2 separate regions of the Homo sapiens genome follow, and region 1 is linked to region 2. The links are contacts of gene promoters, found by promoter capture Hi-C in human tissues and cell types (Jung and others, 2019). All regions are on one chromosome and are shown on one strand. The core of a region is centred on a gene start or on the middle of the fragment in contact, and the rest is flanking DNA. Distances in the headings are between cores, read along the strand shown.

Evidence for each region. The method cuts DNA at HindIII sites, captures the fragments that hold promoters and counts their contacts. A contact is called where the count stands out against the background at its distance.
Region 1: a contact is called between a fragment that was not itself captured here and the fragment with the promoter of TRPV2 in region 2, in 1 of the 25 tissues and cell types used here (neural progenitor cells).

Annotation. Positions count from the first base shown.
Region 1 is chr17:16,453,965-16,457,583 of GRCh38, reverse strand. The region is part of intron 2 of LRRC75A (leucine rich repeat containing 75A); the gene reads left to right. All of the region lies in intron 3 of SNHG29 (small nucleolar RNA host gene 29), which reads right to left. Among named protein-coding and RNA genes, the nearest start is that of SNORD65, 15 kb to the right of the region's middle. RefSeq lists enhancers at 202-701, 702-1,203. The HindIII fragment of the contact is 8,128 bases long and covers 1-3,619 here.
Region 2 is chr17:16,413,772-16,417,487 of GRCh38, reverse strand. It overlaps TRPV2 (transient receptor potential cation channel subfamily V member 2), which reads right to left and starts at 1,917. Exons shown (of 15, transcript NM_016113.5): 1 at 1,655-1,917. RefSeq lists enhancers at 187-296, 637-686, 947-1,016, 1,967-2,086 and a silencer at 1,127-1,246. The HindIII fragment of the contact is 18,759 bases long and covers 1-3,716 here.

The sequences.
Region 1 (3,619 bases), core at 590-3,089, 40 kb before region 2:
TGGAAGGACATTACACAGGGGCACAGATGCCAGGAGCCGAGAGCAGCAAGGCTGTCTTGGAGGCCGGCGGCTGCACATGCCGAAGTGGGGGAATCAGAATAAACTCCCCCATCCGTCTCTCCTCCTGCCCTCTGGTCTTGCTGCCATTGCTCCCATTAGCTGAACCCAAGTGGAAGCCAGGGGGAAGAGAGCCCAGTGATGCAGTCTCTAGAGCCCAGCCTTCTGAGCAGAGAAGGGCAGAGTGGACTGTGGGGCAAGAGGAAACAGAAAAGCCGGCACACAGTCTCTGCATCTGGAATGGTGTCCAGTGTAATGAGGGGGACAGTCAACATTTGATGAATGTATGAATGAATTTATGGATGAGGGAGGGATAGCCTTGAATGGAGGGCAGTGGAGGGCTGTGCTTGTCGGGGTCCTGGAGCAGTTACAGAGGTGCCTGGGGAGTGAAGATGGCAGATGGTATCACTGCCTGATGGCTGAGAGCCAGAGCAGTGTCGGGTGCTGGTACCCCTCCCAGGTCAGCCTGCAGGTCAGCACGTCATCTTTCCTGACAGATTAATGAGAAGCCCCTCAAACACGTTCTGCCCCAGGACCTGGGCAGCCTCACTGGGAAGGTCTGGAGAGGCTGCTGCCCTGACCTGCACTCATAGTCACTTGACTGTGCCACATCCCACTCCTGCCATCTTCAGGGATCGGGGGAGGACTGCAAAGCATTGATTCAGCACACAGCCATTGAGCCTTCTGGGCGGGTTAGGATTCTGCTGCACATAACAGAAGCCCAGGCGGGCTGGCTCCAGCAAGGAAGAAAATGTGTTCTACAGATATCGAGGTGTCTTGTGGTGCCCACGGGCAGCCAAGTTAGACCAAGGTGCTAGAACTATAGATAAGCACGGTGCAGAGGTCCCTCCTTCCCTCCTCGCTGCTCTACCCTGCCTCCCTCTGTGTTCCCTCTGCACAGACTGCTCTTCCCCCTGCCGCATGGTAGGGAATGTGGCTAGCTATGGCTCCCAGGTTACTTCTCAGGGTTCCAGCCACTGGAGGAGTTAGGGTATGTGTGTCTCAGTGTCAAGTCCAGCTTCCTCCTCCTCTTCCTCTTCCTCCTCCTCTTCTTTCTCCTTCTCCTCTTCTTCCTCTTCCTCCTCCTCTTCCTTCTTCTGCTCCTCTTCCTCCTCCTCCTCTTCCTCCTTTTCCTTCTTCTCTTCCTCCTCCTCTTCCTTCTCTTCCTCCTCCTCTTCCTTCTCTTCCTCCTCCTCTTCCTTCTTCTCCTCTTCCTCCTCCTCCTCTTCCTTCTCTTCCTCCTCCTCTTCCTCCTCCTCCTCTTCCTGATCCTCTTCCTTCTTCTCCTCCTTTCTCCTCTTCTTCCTCCTCTTCCTCCTCCTCTTCCTCCTCCTTCCTCCTCTTCCTCCTCCTACCCCTCCTCTTCCTCCTCCTCTCCCTCCTCTTCCTCCTCCTCCTACTACTGCTACTCCTCCTCCTCCCCCTCCCCTTCCTCCTCCTCCTCTCCCTCTTCCTCTTCCTCCTTCTCCTCCTCTCCCTCCCCCCGTTCCCCACCTTCTTACTGCTCCACTTCTGGGCCAGTGCTGCCTAGTCCTGTTCTCTGCAGGAGGGAGCCCTGGAGGGGTTCTTTGAAAAGTGGAAGAGTTGGGAAAAAATGAGACAGTCTCACTGAAGGCTTTTCTGGTTGTAAATGATAGAAACACTTTGAACTGACCTAAGCCAAAGACAGGATTTCTCACAAGGAGGGCAGCAGATAGCGGTTAGGAGCATCAGCCTCAGAGCTGGCTGACTTTAGATCCTGACTCCGTCTTACAAGCTGGGAGGCCTTGCCCATCTATTTAAGTTCTTTTTGCCTCAGTTCCCTCATTTGTAAAGCGGGGTTATTAATAATACCTGTCTCATAGGGTTGTAGTAAGGTATGGGACTATAGTTTGTAGGGCACTTAGGGAGGTCGAGGCAGGTGGACCACTTGAGGTCAGGATTTGAGACCAGCCTGACCAACATGGTGAAACCCCGTCTCTAATAGAAATACAAAAAAAATTAGCCGGGCATGGATGGCGGGTGCCTGTAGTCCCAGCTACTCGGGAGGCTGAAGCAAGAGAACCGCTTGAATCTGGGAGATGGAGGTTGCATTGAGCTGAGATTGCGCCACTGCACTCCAGCCGGGCGACAGAGCAAGACTCCGTCTAAAAAAAAAAATTGTAGGGCAGAACTGTGTGGTACTTTTCCCTCACTCATTATAAGGGTCATGGCTGACACTCCTATAACCAGACACAGGGTAACAAAAAAGCAGAACAAATGTGTTTAATCAAAATTTTACGCAACATGGGAGCTTTCAGAAATGAAGACGCTCAGGTGAGGCACGGTGGCTCACACCTGTAATACCAGCACTTTGGGAGGCCGAGGCAGGCGGATCGTCTGAGGTCAGGAGTTCAAGACCAACCTGGCCAACATAGTGAAACCCTGTCTCTACTAAAAATACAAAAATTAGCTGGGCGTGGTGGCACGCGCCTGTAATCCCAGCTACTCGGGAGGCTAAGCCAGGAGAATCACTTGAACCTGGGAGACGGAGGTTGCAATGAGCTGAGATGGTGCCACTGTACTCCAGCCTGAGGGCGGGGACAGAGCAAGACTCCGTCACTAAAAAAAAAAAAGAAAAGAAAAGAAAAGAAAAGAAATGAGGACCCTTAGCCCCAGCTACCTGGGAGGCTGATACAGGAGGATTACATGAGTCCAGGAATTCAATACCAGCAAGGCCAATATAGTGAGACCCCCATCTCTTTAAAAAAAGAAAGAAATGAAGACCCCAAACCCCAGGGAAAGAGGTTTTTTTGTTTTTTTGGTTTTTTGTTTGTTAGAATTTGTTTATTTTAATTATATTTATTTATTTATTTTAAAACGGAATTTTGCTCTTGTTGCCCGGGCTGGAGTGCAGTGGCGTGATCTCGGCCCACCTCAACCTCTGCCTCCTGGGTTCACGCGATTCTCCTGCCTCAGCCTTCCGAGCAGCTGGGATTACAGACATGCACCACCATGCCTGGCTAATTTTGTATTTTCAGTAGAGATGGGGTTTCTCCATGTTGGTCAGGCTGGTCTCAAACTCCCAACCTCAGGTGATCCGCCCCCCTCTGCCTCCCAAAGTGCTGGGATTACAGGCATGAGCCACCACGCCTGGCCTGTTTGTTTGTTTGTTTTTTGACAGAGTCTCACTCTGTTGCCCAGGCTGGAGTGCAATGACGTGATCTCGGCTCACTGGACCCTCCACCTCCTGGGTTCAAGCAACTCTCCTGCCTCAGCCTACCAAGTAGCTGGGACTACAGGTGCCCGCCACCATGCCTAGCTAATTTTTTGTATTTTTAGTAGAGATGGAGTTTCGCCGTGTTGGCCAGGCTAGTCTCGAACTCCTGACCTCAGGTGATCCACCCACCTCGGCCTCCCAAAGTGCTGGGATTACAGGCGTGAGCCACCACACTCAGCCAGCTATCTGTTTTTATACTCAGGCTTGGTAAAGAGTGCACAAGCTTGTAGAAATGCGATTGGACAAAGGGTGTGATCTAATGGTGATAGGCCGAGGGGACCCAGGAAGGCTATCTGCTCAGATTCTTCTTGGCCTCTCTCTGCA
Region 2 (3,716 bases), core at 668-3,167:
CTGAGGCTGGCTGGTCAGCTGTTAGAGACCAGCCTGACCAACATGGTGAAACCCCATCTCCACTAAAAAAAATACAAAAATTAGCTGGGCATGGTGGCTTGTGCCTGTAATCCCAGCTACTAGGGAGGGTGAGGCAGGAGAATTGCTTAAACCCGGAAGCTAAGATGGCACCACTGCACTCCAGCCTGGGCAACAGAGCAAGACTCTGTCTCAAAAAAAAAAAAAAAAAAAATTGCGGTTTTTGCCATTACTTCTCATTACTTCTAATGGCAAAAATGCCAAGTGCAAGTAGGTCCACCCACTGTGTGGGAGCCCAGCCCCAATGCAGGGGAAGTGGGCCAGGAGGGATGAGCAGCAGGGGTGAGGAGAGGGAGGGAGGCCTGTGGGGTGAGGAACAGGGAACCAATAGGGCCACCCTTTTGATGTTGTCCCCCAGGAAGAGCCATGACTGTCCCCGACTTTTCCTCTGGGACTTCCTGGAATCTGAGGGGTCACAACCCCTGTTACCATTTACATTAACAGCACAACCCTTTCTTTACACAACGTCTTGCCTGGCAGCCAATATTCCAACAGATAAAAGTGCGATGACTGGGATGGGGCCAGTCACTCAACCCCTCGCCAAAGAAGGGGAGCTCTAAGAAGAAATAACTGGGAAAACCACTAGACTATCAAACCCTTCATTTTGCTGCCAAGACTACTAAGGCTTAGAAAGGGGGAGTGGCTTTCCCAAGGTCGCCAGTTGTTGGCAGAGCCGGATCTGACACCATGCGTCTACCATGACGTTCCTCTTCCGTTTTCAAAGCCTTTCAGGGTCTGTCTATATTTTCAGTCTGATTCAGCTCTGAAGGCATCGAATACTACCTTTGTGTGCCTCAGGGCCTCTGGGGGCTTCACGAAGGGAGGGAGGCCCCTAGCCTGTGGCCCAGGCTCTCTCCACCACGCTGCCTCAGGCCCTAGGCTGGCCTAGGAAGCTCAGCAAACAGCACAATCTCACCCTCACAGGAAAACTGAAACCACAGCCTCCATCACTTGGCAAGGGTGGGGCCTCGGTCAGGGTTGGGGAACCCTCATGGGCCCAGTGAGCAGGATCAGAAAGAAGAAGGAGTCAAAGAGTGGTAAGGAGACAGAAGGGTGGAGAAGGGGGCAGGGGGCAGGGGGCAGAGAGCAGAGAGGAGCGGCACCAGCAGAGGGAAGTGGAGAGGGTAGGCTGGGACCAGGCCCTGGGGACCCGGGTGGGGTATTTTCCCATGGAAACATGGGAGGTGGGGAGCTGCCTGGCTGCCTCAGTTTGCAGATGTGACCCACCACCCTTTCTACACACACTGGGGCAGAAGGGTGCTCTTTCCGTTTCATACCGTTTAGCCCATCTGTGTCCCCAACCAAACCCTGGCCCATTCCTCCAGCCCTAGACTCCCAAGCCCCAGCAGCAACAGTTGTCTGTCCAGCCCCCACCCCACCTCCTGGGACCCTCACCCACCCTGGCAGCAGAGGAAGGGGTGTGGAGGTCCAGGGAGAGGGTGCTGGAGCCCCACACAGACCCTGGCTCCAGGCTGTAGAAGCCAGGAGCCCACTAGGCCTTCCCCACCCCATCATTCACTGTCAGGCTTGGAGACCCGGCCCCCTCCAACGTCCCCAGCATTGCCCACCGACTTACCCCGCAGGCTGAGGCCAGGGCGTGGCGGCTGCTGGGATCCCGGAGCTTCTCAGTAGCAGGGGCTGCGGGAGGAAGTGAAGCCGGGAGGGGCTGCCGGCGCTGACAGCAGAGGAGCGGCGGAACCTCCCTCCCCAGCTCTGAGCACTAAGCTCCAGCAAGCAGGTTCTGGTCTCTCGGTCACCCTCAGCCCACCTGGCCAGCCGGCACGGTGGAGAACGGGAGCTTAACTCTCCCCTGTCAGGACAGGCTAGCCACCAGAGACTGACCATCTGGACACACCCTGCTGCGAATCAGGCTCCACCCCCACCCCTCCCCCTTCTAGCCACTAAGGTCTCAGGTGGGGGTGGGTGACACTCAGAGGCAGCCCTTGGATGCTGGGGACTTGCCACCCATGGAAGCTGCCATGGATGGGGGATTCTTCCCCAAGTCCACTGACAGCTATCTCCTCCCCTTCTCCACCACATGCCTTCCAAGCAGCCGTGTGGCCCATAAATGGGCCTGAGTTGACCCATGGCAGGGGAGAAAGCTGATGTGGACAGCCCCCAGGGAGAGGCTCAGCCCAGCAGATGCCCCTGGGAACACAGTCCCACCCACCCATCCACCCAGCAGTTGGGGGACTTTCCCACCTCCCAGGACCTTCTCCCAGCCTCCTGACCCCAGGACTCTGATGGCTAAAGTTCCCCTAAAGGTGCTCCAAGCACCAGCCAGCAGGTGGAGACAAGGAGGTGGGCACGCACTGCTAAAATCAGACCTCACCACCAACGGGGCCCTGGTCTGGACTCAGTCTTGGAGCTTGGGGACCCAACCACCACCGAAGTAGCCCTAGGAATCTCTCTCCCTCACTCCCAAAACCTGGCATCAGCTCTTCCTCCAAAATTTGTCTTTCTGAGTGGTCCAAGCCACTATCACTGCTCCCCTGGGCAACTGCAGCCACCTCCAAACTGGTCTCCCTGCTTCATTCTTGCCCCACACTCATAATCCATTTCTCCTTATAGCAACTGAAGTGACCTTTTAAAAATGGGAACCAGGGCCGGGCGCAGTGGCTCACACCTGTAATCCCAGCACTTTGGGAGGCCGAGGTGCATGGATCACTTGAGGTCAGGAGTTCAAGACCAGCCTGGCTAACATGGCAAAACCCCATCTCTACTAAAAATACAAATATTAGCTGGATATGGTGGTGGGCACCTGTAATCTCAGCTACTTGGGAGGCTGACGCAGGAGAATCGCTTGAACCTGGGAGGCGGAAGTTGCAGTGAGCTGAGATTGTGCCACTGCACACCAGCCTGGACAACAGAGCGAGACTCTGTGTCAAAAAAGAAAAAAAAAGAAAACCAGGTCACCTAACGCCTTGACTTAATCACAAAACCTCACCCATGGTGCTTGGAATAAAATGCAAACTCCATACCATGAGCCCTCAAAGTCCAGATGCCCTTCTCCATCGCTATCCGTCACTCATGGCAACCCTGTCATGCACATTACACTCTAGGCCTGCGCCATCCAATAAGATAGTCACTAGCCACAATGACTGTTTAGATTTAAATCAATTATAATAGGCCTCACGCTTGTAATCCCAGCACTTTGGGAAGCTGAGGTGGGTGGATCACCTGAGGTCAGGAGTTCCAGACCTGCCTGACCAACATAGTGAAACCCCATCTCTACTAAAAATACAAAATTAGTCCAGGCGCGGTGGCTCATACCTGTAATCCCAGCACTTTGGGAAGCCAAGGTAGGTGGATCACTTGAGGTGAGGAATTCGAGACCAGCCTGGCCAATATGGCAAAACCCCATTTCTCCTAAAAATAAAAAAAAATAGCCAGGCGTAGTGGCACGTGCCTGTAATCCCAGCTACTTGGGAGGCTGAGGCAGGAGAATCGCTTAAACCTGGGAGGCAGAGCTTGCAGTGAGCCAAGATTGTGCCATTGCACTCCAGCCTGGACAACAAGAGGGAAACTCTGTCTCAAAAATAAATACATAATAAAATAACAGTAAACATTCAGTTCTGCTGTCCCATTAGCCACATTTTAAATGCTCAGTTGGCACATGTGGCTAGTGGCTACCATAT